Regions from separate parts of the Homo sapiens genome. Here regions 2, 3, 4, 5, 6 and 7 are each linked to region 1. Evidence: promoter capture Hi-C in 16 types of primary human blood cells and fetal thymus (Javierre and others, 2016). All regions are on one chromosome and are shown on one strand. Each heading gives the region's core, a stretch centred on a gene start or on the middle of the fragment in contact. The rest is flanking DNA. Distances are from core to core; before and after follow the strand shown.

Region 1 (3,150 bases), core at 309-2,808:
CTGGGATATTGATTGAGATTGTGCTGAATCTATAGATCAAGTTGAGAGGAAATGACATCTTAACATATTGAGTATTCCTACTCATGTACATGGAATATCTGTGCTTCCTCAATTTCTTTCATTAGAGTTTTAAATTTTTCCTCATACCAATTTTTACATAATGTATTAGATTTACACCTAAGTATTTCACTTTCTTTGGTGCAATATAAATGGTATTGTGTTTTAAATATCAAATTGCAATTGTTCATTGCTGGTATATAAGAAAGCAACTGACTTTTGTATATTAACCTTGTATCCTGCAACCTTGCTATAAACAGACATTATGTTTATTCTGCAGACATTTGGAGCCATAAAAGCATGGGGCAAGAGTGTTGTACTATTATATCTTGTTCAAAAAAAGACTAATCTGGAAGTAATATGTAGAATGGATTGGAAGGAGAAAAAAACAAGGCAAGGAGTCCATGTGGGAGGCTTTTATGTGAGCCCTCCATAAGACAATGAGTTTCTGAATAAGGGTGTTGCAGTACCAGTGAAAAGGTAAGAACAGATTCAAGAGGCAAATATCCTAAATTCGGCCTTCTTCTTCAGGCTTACAGGTCTTTTCATACACAATTCTGTCTTTGGGAGGCGCTTAACACTCTCTTCACCTAACTTCTAATTATTCCTCAAAATTCAGTTCAGGTGTTGTGCCCTCCAACAATCCTTCCCCTCTACTATCTTCCCGTAGCCTCCTGCAGTGTCCTCCATCACACTGTAAGTGCTATTTATATTAATATAATCTACTTGTCTATATACTTACCTGCCTGTCTCTAATCTCTTTCATTAAATCATGAGCTCCTGGCAGATCACGAGGTCAGGAGATAGAGACCATCCTGGCTAACACAGTGAAACCCCGTCTCTACTAAAAATACAAAAAAATTAGCTGGGCGTGATGGCAGGCACCTGTAGTCCCAGCTACTCGGGAGGCTGAGGCAGGAGAATGGCATGAACCCAGGAGGTGGAGCTTGCAGTGAGCAAAGATCGCACCACTGCACTCCAGCCTGGGCGACAGAGCAAGACTCCGTCTCAAAAAAAAAAAAAAAAAAAACTCATGAGCTCCTGAATTTGTGTAGCCTAGTACCTGGCCCAATAAGTATATGCATAAATGAATAATGTATTCACTTCTGTTGTAGGAACTTACAACATTACCAAGTATGTGGCAGGCATTATATCATATTTATGTGACATATTTTCTCTTAAGAAACAGGAATCATAAAGCTTCAAAAAAAAACACTGAAGCCTCAGATGAGGCAGGAAGCACTCATTCCATATCAGGAAGTGATCAGTTCCTCAAAACTGTGAGTTTTCAGTCATGTTGTTTCTTTAAGTTGGTTTAGCCTTCCTGTATACATGTGATAATGATACTGTTTTAAAGAACAGGTGTGAAAGTCTAAGAGTTTAATCCAGACTCTGCACAAGAAGTTAATCTGCCAAACCCTAGGATTCTCCTTCTGAAAGCTCAGAATATTTCTTCCCCTTCCCTATACACACAGGGCTCGAAGGGTTAGAGAAGAAAGGCAGACAACAGCTTCTGAGCTTTGGACTAATCACAGCCTCTGTTCTCAGCAGGAGCCCCAACACTGAGACCAGGTAAGAAAGAAAGCCTCAGGGCTGGAGCGAGTAGAGCAGTAAAGACGGCTGGGAGGTAGTGGTCAGATAGAGGGTAAATATTTCAGGAGGGAAGAGGGAAGAAACTTTCTGATATGACAGCCATCAAATGCATGAGTACTTGTGAAAGAAAATGGGATATGCCAATCAAAGGAGAGGTCATATTTCTGTTTCCTGGGCTTCAGGTTCTTCATAGAATTGTGAGACTATGTGAGAAAGAAGATTTTAAAGGGAGCTGTAAAATCTTAAAAGGCAAAATAAAAATCTAAATAGTTATGATTAAAAATTTTGCTCTTATTGCTTCTCCTACTATAACTATCTTCTCTCTTTCTACACAGAAAAGATGGTGCTATGCTTTCCTCTTCTTTTACTGCTGCTGGTTCTATGGGGACCAGTGTGTCCACTTCATGCTTGGCCTAAGCGTCTCACCAAGGCTCACTGGTTTGAAATTCAGCATATACAGCCAAGTCCTCTCCAATGCAACAGGGCAATGAGTGGCATCAACAATTATACCCAGCACTGTAAGCATCAAAATACCTTTCTGCATGACTCTTTCCAGAATGTGGCTGCTGTCTGTGATTTGCTCAGCATTGTCTGCAAAAATCGTCGGCACAACTGCCACCAGAGCTCAAAGCCTGTCAACATGACTGACTGCAGACTCACTTCAGGAAAGTATCCCCAGTGCCGCTATAGTGCTGCTGCCCAGTACAAATTCTTCATTGTTGCCTGTGACCCCCCTCAGAAGAGCGATCCCCCCTACAAGTTGGTTCCTGTACACTTAGATAGTATTCTCTAAGGCATCCACTGCATTTCCTTTCATTTGACATAGCTTCTGTTACAATTGCATCCATGTTTTCTTTTCTTTTGTTGATTTTCTTGTTCCCGTAGAAGAAAGAAGAAAGGTGTTTGGAGAATTCGAGTGCCTAGGATGCCAGACCAGAGTTGAGACAAAAAGAAATAAGATTATTTTCTGCTTTGTAGTTCTGTACTTTTCGAGAGAAGGGAATAGGGAAGACAGCAAAGAAAGATTCAGATTTCTAACCCTGCAACTTTTGCCAAGCTTTATTGCCCTGTGTTCACAGCAATAAAACCACTTCCTGCTGCATTCTAATGAGTGTGTGTTTGAGATCCGCTTTCAAAGCATTGTTGACCGGTACTCAGAGGAACACTGTTTTGACTTTAAGTCCCTAGAAAACTTTTGAGGCCTCCCTGGGGCCCCACTTCCTTGCCCACAAGAAAGGACAGCGTTTGGGACTTTGGAGCATTTCTTCAAACTCTGCTCATGACTTTATATATTCCCCTGGAAACCATTGTCTATGCTTAATTGGAGGTAGTACTGATACCTCAAAGACAGTTGATGATAACTCACACATAGATTCTGTCACTGGCAACTGAAGGATCCTATGTCTTTTCTATTTGTTTCCGTTTTTAATCAGATAATGTTTTAAATATAAGGTGATAGTAGTAGTAATAGGGATAATAATCCATTGTAGTAACCTTAGG
Region 2 (3,150 bases), core at 427-2,926, 460 kb before region 1:
GCAGCATGTCTTCACACAAAGACATAATAGGATAGTGAGGTCTCCAGAAGCTGAAGAGAGGCCTAAGAAGGGGTAAATAAAAAGGCCAAGTAAGTTAAATTGCAATGAAAATAAAAGTAAAAAAGAAATATAACATGCACGTTTTTATCATAAAATACTGCACATTTTATTATATTCCTTGTATTTATTATAATTGATATATTGATTTCAGTTACTCAATAATATTAATTGTGCTCGTTTGTCCGGTTTTCTAAAAACGCTTTAAGGACAAAGGTAAAGACAAAGGTGGTTACAGATCTTGCTAACGTCAAAAATAATATATACGTGGGCCAGGCTCAGTGGCTCAAGCGTACAATCCCAGCACTTTGGGAAGCCAAGGCAGGCGGGGTCCCTTCAGGTCAGGAGTTCCAGACCAGCCTGGCCAACATGGTGAAACCCAGTCTCTATTAAAAATACAAAAATTAGCCAGGCGTGGTGATTCAAGCCTCTAATCCCAGCTACTCGGGAGGCTGAGGCAGGAGAATCACTTGAATCCGGGAGGCAGAGGTTGCAGTGAAGTGAGATCGCATCACTGCACTCCAGCCTGGGGGACAGAGCAAGAATCTCTCTCATAACATGTATATATATAGGCTGGGCGCGGTGGCTCACCCCTGTATAATTCCAGCACCTTAGGAGGCCAAGGCGGGCGGATCACGAGGTCAGGAGTTCGAGACCAGCCTAACATGGTGAAATCCCATCTCTACTAAAAATACAAAAAATTAGCTGGGTGTGGTGGCGGGCGCCTGTAGTCCCAGCTACTCAGGAGGCTGAGGCAGGAGACTCGTTTGAACCCGGGAGGCGGAGCTTGCAGTGAGCCGGGATCGCGCCATTGCACTCCAGCCGGCGACGGACTCCGTCCCAGAAGGAAAAAAAAAAAAGTTGCCTTGGCCCTCCAGGTCGATAGAAAAGAACACTCGCACACCTTTATCCCAATAGCCCCGCTGAGTGAGTTTCCTCAGGTATGTCACCTGGCAGCCACAGTTAAGATTAAGAGGCCTATTTTACATCCGGCAGAGTAGGGGGCAGCGGGAAAGCAGAGGAGCTGGGAAGCTTTAAAGCTGAGCCCTCTCTCACGCAGCAGAGGCGCAGCTAATTCCGAATCTTCCACCAGCTGGGAGTAAGCGCCAATCTAACTTCTGTACAAGCTGCGTGAGGGGCAAGTTTTAGAGAAACAGACCCACAGAAATTACACTCTGGAATTTTCAGCCAGCTTTCCACGCTCAGTAGAGAAAATAATAGTAACAAATGATACTTAATCTGAGGCTGAAAGAAAAAGCGCGGAAAAACTCCGTTGCCTCCACAGCTCCACAAGCGAAGATTCCAGGATTCTCTGCGAGCGAGTGCTTCAGGGAACTACGCCAGAGCGCGCATGCGTGGGGTTGCCCCGAAGCATCCTGGGACCTGCCAGGCTGAGGGAGTTGCGGGCCGCAGCTCCGGCTAAGAATCGGGAGAAATTCCCAGAAACAGAGTGACAGCTGTAATTGGACAGCTGGCACCTCCATGTTGAGGTAGTCCACCATTTTATTTTTTATCCACCTTGGAATAGACATCTTTCCACTCTCACACATCCTCTATACACATTTAAGGAAATTATAATTTTCCTTGAGTCTGCATTACAAACATGCATTACAGCTCTTTAAATTAAGCGATAGTGGGCCGGGCGCGGTGGCTCACGCCTGTAATCCCAACACTTTGGGAGGCTGAGGCGGGCAAATCACCTGAGGTCAGGAGTTCCCGACCAGCGTGGCCAACACGGTGAAACCCTCTCTCTACTAAAATACAAAAATTAGCTGGGCGTGGTGGTGGACGCCTGCAATCCCAGCTACTCGGGAGGCTGAGGCAGGAGAATCACTTGAACCCACGAGGCAAAGGTTGCAGTGAGCCGAGATCGCACCATTGCACTCCAGCCACGGCAACAAGAGCGACCCTCCGTCTTTAAAAAAAAAAAAAAATTATTTAATTAATTGATAGTATTGAGGGTCAGAACTTTGAGGTGACCTACCTGCGTGCTCTCCTGGAACTGCTAGCAGTGTTTAAATGATTGCACTGTGCCAGTTTTACTCTAATGCTGTTGCCTGTCATTTTCTTTGCCCTTCTGTGCTTACCCATAGCAGCTGCTTTAGGTAATTATTTTCTGCTTAATCTATATGGATCTGTTAGAATTCAGATTAAAAATTAACCTGAAGAGGAAAGCTAGACGGGTCCTCAGGATATAAACCTTAATGAAGCTTTTTTTTCTTTTCCAGATAGGGTCTCACTCTGTCGCCCAGGCTGGAGTGCTGTGACGCGATCTCGGCTCACTGCAACCTCCGCTTTCCGGGTTCAAACGATTCTCCTGCCTCAGCCTCCCGAGTGGCTGGGATTACAGGCACATGCCACCACACCCCGCTAATTTTTGTATTTTTAGTAGACAAAGGGTCTCGCCATGTTGGCCAAGCTGGTTTCAAACTATTGACCTCCAGTGATCCACCCACCTCGGCCTCCCAACGTGCCGGGATTACAGGCGTGCGCCACCATGCCCAGCCTTATACCGTCTTTTGTAGCCATCTTTCCAGATGTTGTGAACCTATTATGAATTAGTAACAGATGCAATTAGCCACGCAGTGGACATCAAACCCTGCAAACCCCTGAGTAGTGCCAAACCATAATATCAAATCTTTTTCCTTCAAACAAAAAACTGTCAAAAACTGTGCAACTTCCTACAAGGTTTGTCATCTGTTTCGGAGTAATTAGGCCTTTGTACATTTCCTAAAATATCTTCTGATAACTTTAAAGTGGTAATTTAATTTTGGTATAAACCAGTTCCAAAAAAAGGAGATCTTCATGTGTGAACCATATACTCCCTAACATCTGTTTTTGGCTGTTTGAGCCTTCTGTGTGAATTCTGGTTTTAACTATGCCAAATGTAGAAATATTAATACAAAAAATAGTACAACTCATTTAAAGTTGAAAAATGCAAAATATTCTAATTTGACTAGTACCTAACTTTGTGATCCTAGCCAATTCCCTTTGCACTGCAATATGATCACTTCCTGGAGATGTATCTAAGTTAATAAATACTTAACATTAATTCATTTTAACAACATGTACTGCAAATATGCTACAATTTAT
Region 3 (3,150 bases), core at 291-2,790, 430 kb before region 1:
ATCCAAAAAAATGGAGAAGTTTTAGTCTTTTTTAAGATGGGAAGATCTGAGACATAATAGCTGTCTTTACACACTGACGTCATGAGGAAAGCCTTTTTTTTCTAGACTTATTCTGAGTTGTAAAATGTGGGAGGCAGAACTTGGATGGTCAACCCTCTATATCCATGGATTCAATGAACTGAGAATCAAAAATGTTTGAAAAATTGCTTCTGTACTGAACCTGTACAGCCTTTTTTTCCTTGCTTCTCATTATTCCCTAGACAGTGCAATATAAAAACTTTACAAAGCATTTACATTGTATAATATTGGGTGTTATAAGGAATCTAGAGATGATTTCTTAGATTGTCTTGTGTTTTGTTTGTTTTTTGCTATAGGATGAAGAGGAAACAAAGAAAGAGGAATCTCTTAAATCTCCCTTGAAGCCAGAGTCACAGCTAGATCTTCGGGTACAGGAGTTAATAAAGTTGATCTGTAATGTTCAGGCCATGGAAGAAATGATGATGGAAATGAAGTATAATACCAAGAAAGCCCCACTTGGTAGGACTTCACATTTTCTTCTGCATTCTCTCCTTATAATTCCTAGCTCCTTTAATGGATACTTTATTATCATTATGATTTAAAGCTTGCTCATAGTACTGAATGAAGAAAATGGGATTTGGGGTGACAGGTTGTATGGAGGGAAGAGGAACTATTTTGAAAGTTGAGGCTGGGTGTGATGGGTCATGCCTATAATCCCAACACTTTGGGAGGCCAAGGCAGGTGGATTGCTTGAGCCCAGGAGTTTGAAACCAGCCTGGGCAACATGGTGAGACCCCATCTCTACTAAAAATAGAAAAATTAGCCAGGCATGGTGGTGTGTGCCTGTGATCTAGCTACTTGCGAAGCTGAAGTGGGAGGATCACCGGAGCCCAGGAGGTTGAACTGCATTTAGCTGTGTTTGTGCCACGGCACTCAGCCTGGGCAACAGGAGTGAGACCCCATCTTAAAAACAGGAAAAAAAAAAGTTGAAAGATGAAAGTCTTTTTTAGGGAAGGATGTTAAGTACAGTTCACTAGATGGGATCCTAGTTTGGAGTCTGATCTCTGGGTGGGCCTGCAGGGAAGCTGACAGTGGCACAAATCAAGGCAGGTTACCAGTCTCTTAAGAAGATTGAGGATTGTATTCGGGCTGGCCAGCATGGACGAGCTCTCATGGAAGCATGCAATGAATTCTACACCAGGATTCCGCATGACTTTGGGTAAGGCCTGTGCTGTTACTTCACTTTGTTCTTCTACCTATACATATCCCCTGTATCCATCAGCAGCAGCTATAATCTTTTAAATCTTTTATTCCTAAGAAAATGATCGTCTTGAATAGGTACAGAAACAAAATGATATATAGGTAGCCTATTTAATCAGCTTACAAATATGGGATGCAATCTCCCGGCTTGACCACAGCCATATTCTCTGACAAAGTGGAAGTTACCAACCCAAGAGAGAATGGGTCTAGCTATCCAACCACCCAAGTAAAACACCTTCAGGCATATCACCCCCTTTTCCTATTTGAGTAACTAAAACCACACAAACACCATTTCTGTGAACTCAAGTGATATTAGATAGACAAAATAACATTTTACATTTGTTGATTCTGTTTTCTGGTTTACATCCGATTTCTATTTCTTTTATAGCTTTATAGAGCCCCGTGACCTAGAAATAACCCTGAGTGGTCAACAGGTCTACCTGTGCTTCTAGATAGAACTGTATCCAACTGTTCCCTGTTGATATCAATATAACTTATTTTTAAATGATTTTATAAAAAATAATTTTAACTCTAGTCTCAAAAGTCAAAATCCACATAGTTCATCTTATACCGAGTATATATTTAATATTATTTTATATATTTGGAAGTTAAGATCTCTTTACAGATCTCTTTCTCTCTCAAATGGAAAACCTGTTTCTCATACCTGTTTTCTAAAGGACCTATCTGTCATTTTCTATTTTTAGTCATGCGCCTTTTAGCCACATGTCAGAAAGCTCATTATGGGTTATATCTCTGTTCTTAGACTCCGTACTCCTCCACTAATCCGGACACAGAAGGAACTGTCAGAAAAAATACAATTACTAGAGGTGAGATATGTATGATTTGAGAAGTATTATATCCCTTATACCAGTGTCCTCCCACATTGATTCTATATCTCATCTTCTCAGGCTTTGGGAGACATTGAAATTGCTATTAAGCTGGTGAAAACAGAGCTACAAAGCCCAGAACACCCATTGGACCAACACTATAGAAACCTACATTGTGCCTTGCGCCCCCTTGACCATGAAAGTTATGAGTTCAAAGTAAGAAAAATGATCATTTATTTTCATATTCTTGCACCCTTAACCACCTCCCCCATCCCACTGTTCTCTAACTACTTCTTGTCAAGAGCAAATTGTCAATTAGGGCAGACTTTTTATGTACTAGGGATTTGGGAAGGCCAAGCTTTTCCTAGCTGCCTTGTAAGACTGTTTGGGAGCAGAAAGGTCTGCCAAGTTATATCAGAATCCCCAAATTCTTCAGTTCAGCTCAGTCTCTTGTAGAGTCTACATCAGCCTTTTTGTCTTATTTTTCACAGGTGATTTCCCAGTACCTACAATCTACCCATGCTCCCACACACAGCGACTATACCATGACCTTGCTGGATTTGTTTGAAGTGGAGAAGGATGGTGAGAAAGAAGCCTTCAGAGAGGACCTTCATAACAGGTCTGAGTCTAGCTTTGCGTTTGGAAAGACACTCCTTGCCCGAAAGTACAGCTGTAGAACTTATAAGAGGGAGTCAGAGGAAGGTGTTGGCTTTTTTATGCTTATGGCCTATCTGTGCAGAACAACAGAGTACAATAATATTGGCTTTTCCTTAGGATGCTTCTATGGCATGGTTCCAGGATGAGTAACTGGGTGGGAATCTTGAGCCATGGGCTTCGAATTGCCCCACCTGAAGCTCCCATCACAGGTTACATGGTGAGTGAAATTGAACTCTGGGAGGAGCACAGGGGAAAGGGATACAGTAATGTTCTCAGTGCTTTTTTTCCTAGATTAGGATTAGATGGTTCCCCTCCCCAAGAGTTAAGCCAGCTCACTGATAACCTTGTCATCTCTTACTGTGTCCCTCTTTCTTTAAATTCCTAAAGA
Region 4 (3,150 bases), core at 651-3,150, 370 kb before region 1:
CCAGCACTTTGGGAGGCCGAGGCGGGCGGATCACAAGGTCAGGAGATCGAGACCATCCTGGCTAACACAGTGAAACCCCATCTCTACTAAAAAAATACAAAAAATTAGCCAGGCAGGGTGGCGGGCACCTGTAGTCCCAGCTACTCGGGAGGCTGAGGCAGGAGAATGGCGTGAACCAGGGAGGCGGAGCTTGCAGTGAGCCCAGATTGGCCACTGCACTCCAGCCTGGGCGACAGAGCAAGACTCTGTCTCAAAAAAAAAAAAAAAAAAAAAAAAAAAAAAAAAAAATGCCTACCTCACAGAGTTGTTATAGAAATAAATGAGAAAAAAATATTAGGCACTTTGAGCATTGCCTGGCACTAAGTGTTCAATATAGAAGCTATTATTATTTGTTATTATTATCCAGTAAACTACTAAATTCTATTGATTCTACTCCCTCAGTGTCTCTCAGATCTATCCAATTCTCTCCATTCCTCCTACCACCACCTTTGTTGAAACCCTCTAATCCATGTGGTGACATACTGTATATAGATTTGTCTAAAGGACCTCCCTGCTAGAGCCAGATGTGGTAGCCTGCAATCCCAGTGACTCTCAGAGGCTGAGGCAGGAGGATCACTTGAGCCCAGGAGTTTAAAACCAGCCTGAGCTACATAGTGAGACTCCTTTTTTTTTGAGACAGAGTCTTGCTCTGTCACCCAGGCTGGAGTGCAATGGCACGATCTTGGCTCACTGCAACCTCCGCCTCCCAGGTTCAATCCATTCTCCTGCCTCAGCCTCCCGAGTAGCTGGAATTACAGGCGCCCGCCACTATGCCCAGCTGATTTTTTTTTCTTTTTTTTTTTTTGTATTTTTAGTAAGAGACAGGGTTCCACTATGCTGGCCAGGCTGGTCTCGAACTCCTGACCTTGTGATCCACCCACCTTGGCCTCCCAAAGTGCTGGGATTACAGGTGTGAGCCACTGTGCCTGGCGGACTCCTTTTTTTTTAAGCATGTTTGCTTATTAGCCCACTTGCTAATTGTTTCTCCTTTGTGGTTTTTTTTTTTTTTTTTTTTTTTTTGCTTTTTGTTTTTTGAAACGGAGTCTCACTCTATTGCTGGCTGGAGTGCAGTCGCACAGTCTCAGCTCACTGCAACCTCGACTTCCCGGGTTCAAGTAATTCTCCTGCCTCAGCCCCCCAAGTAGCTGGGATTACAAGTGCCTGCCACCACACCCAGCTAATTTTTGTATTTGTAGTAGAGACAGGGTTTCACCATGTTCATCAGGATGGTCTCAATCTCCCGACCTCATGATCCACCCACCTCAGCCTCCCAAAGTGCTAGGATTACAGGCGTGAGCCACCGCACCCAGCCTAATTGTTTCTCTTTACTGAAATACAACTCCTTAAGGTAAGGGCTCCTTTGTCTTGCTCCCCTCTGCATCTTCAGCATCATACACAAAACCCGACTTCCGGTCACCTCCCAGCATCATCTCTCACTAACACCCCGATCTAACCCTCAGCACTCTAAGCTTCAATCATACAAATTTTATTTAGCTTATTAATTGCCAAGGTATCTCTTGACTACGGGCCTGTGCACAGGCAGATCCCTGGAACACTCTTTCTTCTACCAATACCACCCCTCCTTTACAAGGCCAAATGCTACTTTCCTCTCACTCTACAGACTTCAGTTTCATCAACTCCTCCAAAAAGCCTGTGCTGACACCAAGCCCCAGTCTGATTTAGGTGGCCTTCTCCTTGTTTTCACAACACCCATATGTCCCCTATCATAGAGCACATCACCTGTTTGTCTTTCTTCCCAATAGACCATTAAGTTCCTGAGGAGAGAGACCCTTTTAGCCTTGTTCCCACAATTGCTGGTCAGCGGGATTCAGAGGCTTTTGAGAATCTGGTAAAAGCTATGGAGCTTTTTCACAGAAAAAAAAAAAGTATATACTGTTTTGTGCTCAATTTTCAGAGTGTCTATGAAGCCCATTTATGGACCTCCCAGGATCTCCATAAACTGAAAATTAGAAACCTCTGCCTAACAGAATGCTTGAATTATACCATCAGGAACCTATTTTCTGGCTGGGTGTGGTGGCTCACACCTGTAATCCTAGCATTTTGGGAGGCTGAGGTGGGAGAATCACTTGAGGTCAGGAGTTCAAGACCAGCCTGGGCAACATAGTGAGACCTCTATTTAAAAAAAAAAAGGAATGTATTTTCTTACTTATTTGGACAAAGGCTAATCTCTCATTCATATGTAAATATTTTGGGAATAATATTGTTAAGTCAACCACCTAAACTTAGTGTGAAAAAGCTTAGGGACAAAAGTACAGAACACTTCCAAGAAGACCTGAATGACTAACAATCCAGGGCCAAAAAGGACAACAATATCTCACTGGACGTCAGTGTGACAAACACGTAAAAAATGATGGCTTCTGTGCCCAATACACTTTGCTCATGTCGTTGCCCTATATAAGCCCCCAAGGAAAGGAGTGGGGAAACTCAGAATTGACTCAGATTTTTTTTAAAAGAGATCTCAAGCCAAAAATAAACAGAAAAATAAGGACAGTTTATTTGAGCAACATAGTGAGACTGTCCTATCCTTAAAAGGACAGTCTCACTATTTTGCTCATTTTATTGTTTTGCACCCTGGAGTTTTTGAAAGGAGATTCGGCTGAACCACAAATGGAAAGTTAAAGTTCCGTCCCCACTTCCATCTCTAGTTCCCTTCTCTGGAAGTAAACATTGCTCACAGTTTTATACTAACAGTTTCACAGTTTCTATGCATATGCAAATACATGCCTTCACCATCACCACTGCTTTTGCTTTTGCTTTACACAAACAGGATCATAAGTTAGATGCTATTCTGCACTTAGTATATCTCAGAGACCTTGCCCTGTTAACACATTAATACCCACCTCACTCTTTCCTTTTTTTTTTTTTTTTTTTTTTGAGGCGGAGTCTGGCTCTGTTGTTCAGCTCACTGCAATCTCTGCCTGCCGAGTTCAAGCGATTCTCCTGCCTTAGCCTTCCGAGTAACTGGGATTACAGGCGCCCACCACCATGCCCGGCTAATTTTTTTGTATTTTCAGTAGAGAGGGTTTTCACCATGTTGGTCAGGCTGGTCTCAAACTCCTGACCTCAGGTGATCCCCAACCTCCGCCTCCC
Region 5 (3,150 bases), core at 1-2,500, 350 kb before region 1:
CTTCCTGAGCAGAGTTCACTGCTCTATCCTCTGGGCTCTCGCAAGACTCGTCCATACATGTAAGTCCACTCAAAATTTGTATTTGTTTATGTCTATCTGCTGGTCAGGAGCTCTCTGACCTCTGTATCTTGGTGCCTCCTACAGTGCCTGCCACACAGTAGGTAATTAATAACTGTGTGAGGGAGAAAGAAGAGAAAGAAAAAAGAGAGGCAGTGGGGAGAGCAGGATGGGGGAAGAGAGAAAGAGGAAGCACCTGACTACCTTCCCTGGCCAAGATAAAGGGAAATGGATTTAAAAATAACTCTGGGGGAAAGGAACTGAAAGGGGGAAATGACTTTTCTGAGTCTTGTCTGCTTCTCACTCTTCTCTCCCCCCACATCCTCTCACCACTTGAGACCTCAGGCAACAACGGTCTCATTTTCACTCCTGATTCCTCAGTTTGCCCAAAAGAAAGAAGGCACACAGGCTTCTGACTTCTTCCACCCCATCTCCTTAAACCTCAGATCATCTGTTTTTCCACTGTGGGCCTCTCCCTCCTTGGCCTCTGCCCCCATCATCTTTCCCACACAACACTCCTGCCACATGGCCCTGGGGGGCCCGTCAGGCCTCTCAGGCCCCTGTGCCGTGCATGTCCATGTGGGAGCTTCTGCCTCAGAAGGAAACCAAGAGGTTCTCAGGGGCAGCCTGTGGTGTCTCGCTGGGAAACGCTAGACCAGGCCTACAAAGTTACCCGGGAGAGAATATTGTTAAGAAGGTTTAGGCATCCCAGGGGTGGGAGAGGAGAAAGGAGCAAGTTCCAGGAAAAAAAGGGCTGAACGATTTACAGTCCTTACTCCTACACTCCTCAAACTCTTTCATGGATGGCCATTCCACATTTTTCCCATGATCCATGGGTCAGAACCATTTTTCCAACTGTCCTCCCATGGTCTCTACACTTTGGCTACTGAAGCTTCTTAACTCTCTTTCAAACTAGATGCCCTTTCCCTAAGAATCCCTAAGCCTTGTGGAGTTGCTCCCGAGTCTCCTTTCCTCACCTGGGTATTCAGCTGCCTCCCCTTTCCCTATATGTTTTCCCTAGGAGTTCTGGAACCACCATTTCCTCAACGGAGATCATACGTACAAAAGCAGTTTACAATGCACAGTGTGAGAATAAAATACTACCAAGAATAAAGCCTCTTTTCACTCCCCACAATCTCTGTCCTTCTCTCAGGCTATTTCTTATGCCCTCCTCTCCCCATACACTGTTGCTCCCTCTTCACCCAGCAGGTTTGGTTTGGTGTGGGGTGGGAACCAAAGCTATGTGCTGCACAGCGGGCAGTGTCAGGATGCAGGCAGGCATCTCAGCCCGAGGCCTTGGCAGAGTTCCCAGGCAGAGCCATCGGCCCAGGCCAGGACAGTAGGCATGGATAAGGTGAGAGAGGGCATAAGTACGGTGACTGTAGCCCCCGAGCACCAGTAGCTCCCCCTGCAGCACAGCACTTGCAGCCCCCACATGGGGGGAGGGTAGGGGTGCCAGGTGAGTCCAGCTATCAGTCCTTAGTTCATAGGCCTCAAAGCTTAGCAGGTCCTCAGTCTCACCCAGCCCACCTGCCACATACAACCTCCCACCCAATGCAGCCATGACATGGCCAGCCCGAGGTACCCCCATAGGGCTCAGAAACGTCCCTGGCTTCTCAAGTTTGGGGTCATAGTGCATCAGTGAGGCCAGGTATTGGCCAGTCCCACCACAGCCACCGCTCACGTACAACTGGCCCTCCAAAATCGCAGCTGCGTGGGCAAAACATGGTGCTGGAAGTGCAGGTGCTGGCCTAAGGGAGAACAGGACACAAGATAAGGCAACTAGCATCTTCAACTCTCCTTCTATTCCAAGTCTCCTAATCTCTCCCAGATGCCCCCTTGCCTGCTTACCTCCAGACATTGAGCTCAGGGTTGTAGGTCTCCACAGAGTCCAGGGCAACATCATTGTGTCTTCCACCCAGGGCATAAAGTTTTCCATCCAGTGCCACCAAGGAGAAAAGGCTTCGAGCCTGGGACAAAGGAGCCATCTCCTCCCAGTCCTCTTGACTGGGCTCCCACCTGGACACAGTAGGACAAGAGATTGGAAGAGGGACTCTGGGCATCCGTGGTTGGCTAGGCCAGCAATTTCTCTCCCTGCCCACCTTAGGGCCTGCCACACCCTGCCCACTCCTAGAAGCTTATACCTGAGAGTTGAAGCCAGGGTGTTGGAGTGACTGTAGAAATCTTGTCCCCCACACACATAGAGTTCACTTCCTGCCAGGCTTGCAGCCCCATGCCGGAAGCGTCCGGGGGCAGGCAGGGCAGGCAGCTGCCCCCACTCAACAGTTCGTACCAGTCCCACGCCACAGCGGAAGGCCCGGGCCCACCACACTGCTCGGGATGGTTGTCTTAGGGCCATGTCTGGTCTGAGCCCATCCCCGCCAATCACTACCAGTGCCCGGTCAGGCTCCCTCCGTCTCTCTTGGCCTGGAACATCAGCCTCTACCATCAGCTGGTGCAACAGATCTGGGGTCAGGGGTGGAAGTAGCCCGGCTGCCCGCACCCTCCGCAACTCCCTGGTGGACATGCGGCCAAAGCGGACACATCGCAGCAGGGCCTTGGCCTCTGACTCCTGGGTCTCGGGGTTGGCAGCCAGCCAACACCGTGCAGCCACAAAGGCCTCAAACTCCTCCTGCACATGGAGCTCATCACTATCCAGGAGCTCAGCCAAGCAGGCAGCTGGTAAAGAAGGGAAAGCAGGACACAAGGCTACAGCAGGCAGGTGGGTGAGGAGGTAGTGACGGGCTTTGCTCCAGAGCCTCTCCAACCCAGGGGCTTCCGCCATGGGGAACAGGGCCAGGCAACGGGCAGGGCTGAGGCCCCGTGCCAAGCCTTTCTGACACAAATCCAAGCAGGAAGAGCTCTGGTACTGCAGAGCAGCCTGGGCAGCTCTCAGTAGCCCTGGCCACCTTGCCCGCACAACTCCGGAGTAAGCAAAAGAGACGAGGAGTCGCAGGTCCTGGGTGGAGATCGTCCGCAGAGATACCTCTGTGCCCTGGGATTCCCTCATCCCGCTCAGGAGCATGGCCCCAAAGAACTCACTGCCACAGGCCAGGGCGGCTCGGTGCACTGCAGGAGGGGAGAAGGAATAGA
Region 6 (3,150 bases), core at 475-2,974, 330 kb before region 1:
TATAATTTTCTGTGGTTTGCTCAGCTTAATCATGAATATCTCAAAGCATTGAGTATTTTATTTATCTTTGTATTCCCAGTGCCCAAGTGCCCAGAGGAGTGAATGCTAAACATACATATATATTTCTAGTGAGTATCTGTCACAACATCACCTGTTCAGGGAGGCTTTTCAGATACATGCAAGTCAGCTGCCCTCTCCTATGTATGCAAGTGTTTGAGGGGAGAGTAGCAAGATATAATAGCTTATTTAAAATATCAATTAAAAGTTGTAATGTGTTTTGTACTTTTTTTTTTTTTGAGACAGAGTTTCACTCTTGATGCCCAGGCTGGAGTGCAATGGCACCATCTCGGCTCACTGCAACCTCTGTCTCCCGGGTTCACGCAATTCTCCTGCCTCAGCCTCCCAAGTAGCTGGGTTTACAGGCATGCGCCACCACGCCCAGTTAATTTTTTGTATTTTTTAGTGGAAACATGGTTTCTCCATGTTGGTCAGGCTGGTCTCGAACCCCGACCTCAGGTGATCTGCCTGCCTTGGCCTCCCAAAGTGCTGGGATTACAGGCGTGAGCCACCACGCCCAGCCGTGTTTGGTACTTTCATCTAATCTTCAAGACCTAATGATACAGGTATTATTCCCATTTTAAAAACAAAGACCAGGCCCGAGCGGTGGCTCATGCCTGTAATTTCCACACTTTGGGAGGCTGGGGTGGGCGGATCATCTGAGGTCAGGAGTTCGAGACCAGCTTGGCCTGGTGGAAACCCCGACTCTACTAAAAATACAAAATTTAGCTGGATGTGGTGGCGCACACCTATAGTCCTAGCTACTTGGGAGGCTGGGGTAGAAGAATCGCTTGAACCTGGAAGGCAGAGATTGCAGTGAGCCGAGATCGTGCCACTGCATTCCAGCCTGGGCGACAGAGCAAGACTCTGTCTCAAAAAAATAAAATAAAATAAAAAATAAAGACCAAATGTCCAAAACAAAAATATTTAATATGAATATAGCAAAGCCAGCCAGTTCTGTCTGACATGTAAGCCGGGAGTCTTTCCACTCTCATCTCTCTACTCATCCTAGAATATTTCAAAAAATAATTTTTTTTTAAAAAGGGAGTGTATATTCAGGGCAACTGGAATCTATACTCCTGCTAAGCGTTTTTTAAACAGAATATTTCGAGTCCATCTCTATTATACTGTTTATCATGCTGTAGTATAAACATCTATTTATATGTCTGACTCCACAGCAGTATAACATCTATTTCTGAATACTTAGCACATAAAATGCGCTCAGTAAAAGGTAAATGAACTCATCAGATCCACGTCCAAGTGCCTGTAACTCTTCTAGTCATCAGCCTTGTGACGTTAATAATGTCACATAATTTCAATGAGACTCGGATCGAAAGCTGCACCTCACTAGTATTTAGGAAGATGGAAGGCTGATTCTGTGCGGGGAAGTGCGCGGAAAACTCTTAAGTCCCCTACTCACCAACCTGTGCCAGGAGGCGTGACGTAAGTCCGCCGCGGGTTCGCCAGCACCTTGCCATCCCGCACCACGCCCACGCCAATCTTATTGGCGCTGCCTTCAAAACCCAGCACCGCCGGCATGGCGGAGGCTGGGAGAAAACGCCGACAGGACTCCTGGCAATGTCAGGAGCTGTGGAGGTCCTCACTAGTCCGCGCTGGGCCGCAGCTTTCCGGAGCGCAGAGGAAGCTGGCCAGCCTGCAGATAGCACTGGGAAAGACACCGCGGAACTCCCGCGAGCGGAGACCCGCCAAGGCCCCTCCAGGGACCTGTCTTCCTAACTGCCAGGGACGCCGAGCCAACTCTGTGCCTTACATTCGTATCCGTTTTCCTATCTCTTTCCCGTGGTCCAGCCCAGCCTTCTCCACTGTTTTTTTCCCTCTTGCACATAGTTAGAATCTTAAGTCAGTGTCACACAATGTGCTGTGCATCTGGCACAACGATAAACAGCCCGAGGGAGGGTTGGGGACCTAAGTGTCCTAGAGAATTAGAGGAGGGAGGCGAGGCTAAGCGTCTCCGTCACGTGGTGTCAGACAGACCAATCACGCGCATTCTTCGGCCACGACAAGCGCGCCTCTGATCACGTGACCAGGTCCGCTACCCACGTGGGGGCTCAGCGTGCACCCTTCTTTGTGCTCGGGTTAGGAGGAGCTAGGCTGCCATCGGGCCGGTGCAGATACGGGGTTGCTCTTTTGCTCATAAGAGGGGCTTCGCTGGCAGTCTGAACGGCAAGCTTGAGTCAGGACCCTTAATTAAGATCCTCAATTGGCTGGAGGGCAGATCTCGCGAGTAGGGTACAAGGCACTATGAAATGATCTAGTTTCGTGGGTGAGGGGCTGAAGGGCCTATGATGCACGGAGGCGGGGAAAGGATTTAGAGATAACGTGGTTTGAAAGGCGGGACCTGGTGCGGGGACGCTCTTGGGAGGAGTCTTCTCCCCAGCCTTAGCTGGTTTCATGATTTCTTTGCGTCTGTAGGCAACGCGGTAAAAATATTGCTTCGGTGGGTGACGCGGTACAGCTGCCCAAGGGCGTTCGTAACGGGAATGCCGAAGCGTGGGAAAAAGGGAGCGGTGGCGGAAGACGGGGATGAGCTCAGGACAGGTAAGGGAATGAAATCAGCCCTTCTTCCTAGAAGCTGCGGCGGGGGTGTTTGTCATTCCCTTGATGTACGGTAAGTACGGGCCGACTCATTTTTGCAGGGGTTTGTGAAGAAGTCGCAGGAACCGTAGGCTTTCGTTGGGTCTATAGTTAACGCCGGATCGCAGTTGGAAACCACCAGCTTTTTGTCAGTATATATTACTCATTTTATAGAGCCAGAGGCCAAGAAGAGTAAGACGGCCGCAAAGAAAAATGACAAAGAGGCAGCAGGAGAGGGCCCAGCCCTGTATGAGGACCCCCCAGATCAGAAAACCTCACCCAGTGGCAAACCTGCCACACTCAAGATCTGCTCTTGGAATGTGGATGGGCTTCGAGCCTGGATTAAGAAGAAAGGATTAGATGTGAGTGGAATTTGAGGGAAAGAGACATTTTTTAGTATTGAATGGTCTTAGGGTTTAGTCACCCCTTTTCTCCGTTTAGCCTTCAGGCTGTTTTATTTTTCTCCTGCCCGTAGTTTTCTGTGGGGCTTCCCCAGTC
Region 7 (2,500 bases), core at 1-2,500, 310 kb before region 1:
CCGGAGCAGGAAGGGGACAGGTCGGTGCGGTCTAAGCTACTCCGTAAAAGCAGCCGTTGTGTGTCTCCGTGTGTGTGTTAGGGGAACAAGTGGAGAGTGAGTATATGTATATATCCCTCACTCCATACCAGGAGGAGGTCTCCTCACCCCCTGCGCTCTTCATAAATTCCCATGCTAGGGTCTGGGTAAAGCTGCGAGGTACTTTTGGTGCTCAAATTCGGAGTTCCTCCTTTAGAGGCAAGATTACTCACCTCCTTTGCCAGTTGCACTCCTCCCTTCCTTCCAGACTGGCAGTATGATTAACTCGGTGGGAAGTGACTGCTAAGTGGAGACGGAAATCAGTCACCGAACTGAGCAACAGTCCTGTGCTCACTTCCCCCACCCCACGCCTTTGAAAACTCTTCTCTCGGCTTGGGTCCTGGATATCCCAGTCCAAGTGACCTGCATTAGGCATCACAGTTGCTTTTGGATGCCCAGGGAGCCAGGGTGTTCTTGAGGGGACTGATAGCCAATGAGGAAGTGCTGTGAGATGTGGCTAGACATGCCATGTGGCGGCAGCTTCACACATTCATTTCCTTTGCACCTTTTGGGGATGCCATTTGATTAACATTTTACCAGCTTAATTGCTTCTCTCCATTGTCCTGTGGCTCCGTTGACCAGCCCCCAACCTACCTGATCCAACTGCTTCCCTGAGGGTAGCCTGGTGTATTGTGCAATCATGTCTGGTTTCCCGGGCTCTGCTTTCCAAGTAAAAAATTTCCTGTGAAAGCTTGGTTAGTTGTGTTCAGCTCTGTCACACCTCATTGCCACCTCTGAAAGCAACGTTTGGTCTTCCCAGATGGATGTGAGAGAACTGGACTTGGAACTGGGAGAAAAGTAACACGGGTTGATTCTTGCTAGTGTAGGGGTTCTGGGTAAGTGCCCTGAGGTTTCTGAAGAGCAAAGATCCTCGGTGGAGAGAAAGGAAACTGGGAGGAGGCAGGGAGGGGGAAGGACAGGAAGAAGACCACAGGCAGGTGGAAAGCAGGAGAAAGATTCAAATACTTTGTGTAACAGAGCCATAGGTCTTTGGAAGTTGTTAGCAAGTATTCAATTCATTTTCAGATTGAGCCTATAAGATAGATGGGGCCAATTTACATCCCTTGTTTATACCTGAGAAAATAATTTAAAGCACAAATTACATGCCTAAAAAGACAATATTGGGACTAGAATCTAGGTCGAATTCTGCTTCCCTCCAGACCAGCAATTCCTAAACCTGGTTTTATTTTATTTTATTTTTATTTATTTATTTTGGAGTCGGAGTCTCGCTCTGTCTCCCAGGCTGGAGTTCAGTGGAGCGATCTTGGCTCACTGCAACCTCTGCCTCCCGGGTTCACACCATTCTACTGCCTCAGCCTCCCGTGTAGCTAGGACTACAGGGGCCCGCCACCACGCCCGGCTAATTTTTTTTTTTTTTTTTTTTTTTTTGTATTTTTAGTAGAGACGGGGTTTCAACATGTTAGCCAGGATGGTCTCGATCTCCTGACCTCGTGATCCGCCCACCTCGGCCTCCCAAAGTGCTGGGGTTACAGGCATGAGCCACCGCGCCCAGCCCCTAAACCTGGTTTTAAAATCAAAATTACATGGGCTTCAGAATCTGTTTTTTGTGGGGGTTTTGTGTGTGTGTGTGTGTGTGTTTTTTATAGGGTCTCACTCTGTCACCAGGCTGGAGTGCCAGAATCTGTTTTTCTAACAAGCTTCTGCTGAGAATTTGTGTAGTCAGTCCTGGTTTAACCTTTGACAACCAGTACTGTGGACTGGGTCTGCTTTTTTGTACAGCAGTTTATCTAGTTTTTTGTCTGGAATTAACCCCCTTGTGATCCAGGGAGCTAAGAATGGCACGTAGACCTCTACCAGGGGTGGTCCCATTGTGTTTTATTGGTTAAAACAAAAAAGAAATGTAGCCCTTAAGTCTTTGGCTGAGGAAGGAACTGGAGGAATGAGGGTTCAAAAGGAAATTTGAGTTTATCTCTGCCTTCATAGTAGTTGGTCTTAATTACATTTTGAATGTCTTTGGGGAACAGGTAAGGTAATAAGGGGGATTTTACTAGGTGGGCACCACCCTCAGGAAGGGCTTAATCCCATTTTGAGTACTCTTCTTGGGCTCCCTCCTGGCCAAGCCCTTTTACCCTCCCTAATTTGATTATTTCCTTGCACTTCCCCGTACACTCTGGCCCCTTCCTCTCTAAACCTTTGTCATAAGGATAAGTATGCAGCTTGCCAGTGTTCAGTGGATCCAACACTGGAGTTGGGCCTGTTAGTAGAAACAGGCTTTATTAACTTTTGCCAGGCTCTAGAATGGAGGTAGTTTCATATCAGACTTGTAGTGGGCTTGATTCAGAAAGAAGGGTGGCTGAGTAGATGGAAGAGCATAGTATGGCCTTTCCCTCTGTGCCAGCTTCTCCGTCCCTGCTGCCTCAGTATACCTGCCAGCCTTTTTGCACCGAAGGTCATTTGTCTG

Evidence for each region. Contacts are between HindIII fragments. The CHiCAGO score rates a contact against its expected background, and 5 or more counts as called.
Region 2: a contact is called between a fragment that was not itself captured here and the fragment with the promoter of RNASE6 in region 1, in 2 of 17 cell types (total B cells and erythroblasts). The highest score is 6.8, in total B cells.
Region 3: a fragment that was not itself captured here is called in contact with the fragment with the promoter of RNASE6 in region 1 in 1 of 17 cell types (M2 macrophages); the score reaches 6.3 in M2 macrophages.
Region 4: a contact is called between a fragment that was not itself captured here and the fragment with the promoter of RNASE6 in region 1, in 3 of 17 cell types (naive B cells, total B cells and M0 macrophages). The highest score is 7.6, in naive B cells.
Region 5: a fragment that was not itself captured here is called in contact with the fragment with the promoter of RNASE6 in region 1 in 1 of 17 cell types (naive B cells); the score reaches 6.5 in naive B cells.
Region 6: the fragment with the promoter of OSGEP here is called in contact with the fragment with the promoter of RNASE6 in region 1 in 6 of 17 cell types (naive B cells, total B cells, M2 macrophages and 3 more); the score reaches 8.8 in naive B cells.
Region 7: a contact is called between a fragment that was not itself captured here and the fragment with the promoter of RNASE6 in region 1, in 1 of 17 cell types (M0 macrophages). The highest score is 5.1, in M0 macrophages.

The regions. Positions count from the first base shown.
Region 1 is chr14:20,779,710-20,782,859 of GRCh38, forward strand. RNASE6 (ribonuclease A family member 6) reads left to right here and starts at 1,559. Exons shown (of 2, transcript NM_005615.5): 1 at 1,559-1,629; 2 at 1,986-2,758. The coding sequence starts at 1,991. The coding sequence ends at 2,443. All of the region lies in intron 1 of LOC107984671 (a long non-coding RNA gene), which reads right to left. RefSeq lists an enhancer at 2,634-2,703. The HindIII fragment of the contact is 1,450 bases long and covers 1,256-2,705 here.
Region 2 is chr14:20,316,499-20,319,648 of GRCh38, forward strand. CCNB1IP1 (cyclin B1 interacting protein 1) reads right to left here. Exons shown (of 7, transcript NM_021178.5): 5 at 1-62. The coding sequence starts at 25. Among named protein-coding and RNA genes, the nearest start is that of SNORA79B, 5.3 kb to the right of the region's middle. The HindIII fragment of the contact is 1,178 bases long and covers 1,088-2,265 here.
Region 3 is chr14:20,353,711-20,356,860 of GRCh38, forward strand. PARP2 (poly(ADP-ribose) polymerase 2) reads left to right here. Exons shown (of 16, transcript NM_001042618.2): 8 at 375-537; 9 at 1,099-1,237; 10 at 2,042-2,105; 11 at 2,187-2,321; 12 at 2,597-2,724; 13 at 2,880-2,979. Among named protein-coding and RNA genes, the nearest start is that of PARP2, 12 kb to the left of the region's middle. The HindIII fragment of the contact is 1,841 bases long and covers 621-2,461 here.
Region 4 is chr14:20,409,769-20,412,918 of GRCh38, forward strand. All of the region lies in intron 1 of TEP1 (telomerase associated protein 1), which reads right to left. Among named protein-coding and RNA genes, the nearest start is that of TEP1, 2.2 kb to the right of the region's middle. RefSeq lists enhancers at 2,571-3,150, 2,597-2,766. The HindIII fragment of the contact is 788 bases long and covers 1,507-2,294 here.
Region 5 is chr14:20,427,594-20,430,743 of GRCh38, forward strand. KLHL33 (kelch like family member 33) reads right to left here. Exons shown (of 5, transcript NM_001365790.2): 3 at 2,202-3,126; 4 at 1,909-2,076; 5 at 1-1,808. The coding sequence ends at 1,256. Among named protein-coding and RNA genes, the nearest start is that of KLHL33, 7.0 kb to the right of the region's middle. RefSeq lists an enhancer at 1,401-2,033. The HindIII fragment of the contact is 607 bases long and covers 948-1,554 here.
Region 6 is chr14:20,453,088-20,456,237 of GRCh38, forward strand. OSGEP (O-sialoglycoprotein endopeptidase) reads right to left here and starts at 1,725. Exons shown (of 11, transcript NM_017807.4): 1 at 1,482-1,725. The coding sequence starts at 1,596. It overlaps APEX1 (apurinic/apyrimidinic endodeoxyribonuclease 1), which reads left to right and starts at 2,139. Exons shown (of 5, transcript NM_001641.4): 1 at 2,139-2,307; 2 at 2,491-2,616; 3 at 2,827-3,014. The coding sequence starts at 2,559. RefSeq lists a silencer at 1-375, promoters at 1,638-2,082, 1,712-2,249, 1,914-2,248, enhancers at 1,673-1,762, 2,183-2,402 and cis regulatory regions at 1,709-2,039, 1,970-2,125, 1,996-2,037, 2,034-2,039, 2,050-2,082 and 2 more. The HindIII fragment of the contact is 3,687 bases long and covers 1-2,244 here.
Region 7 is chr14:20,469,756-20,472,255 of GRCh38, forward strand. All of the region lies in intron 1 of PNP (purine nucleoside phosphorylase), which reads left to right. Among named protein-coding and RNA genes, the nearest start is that of PNP, 1.6 kb to the left of the region's middle. RefSeq lists enhancers at 113-182, 213-342. The HindIII fragment of the contact is 967 bases long and covers 768-1,734 here.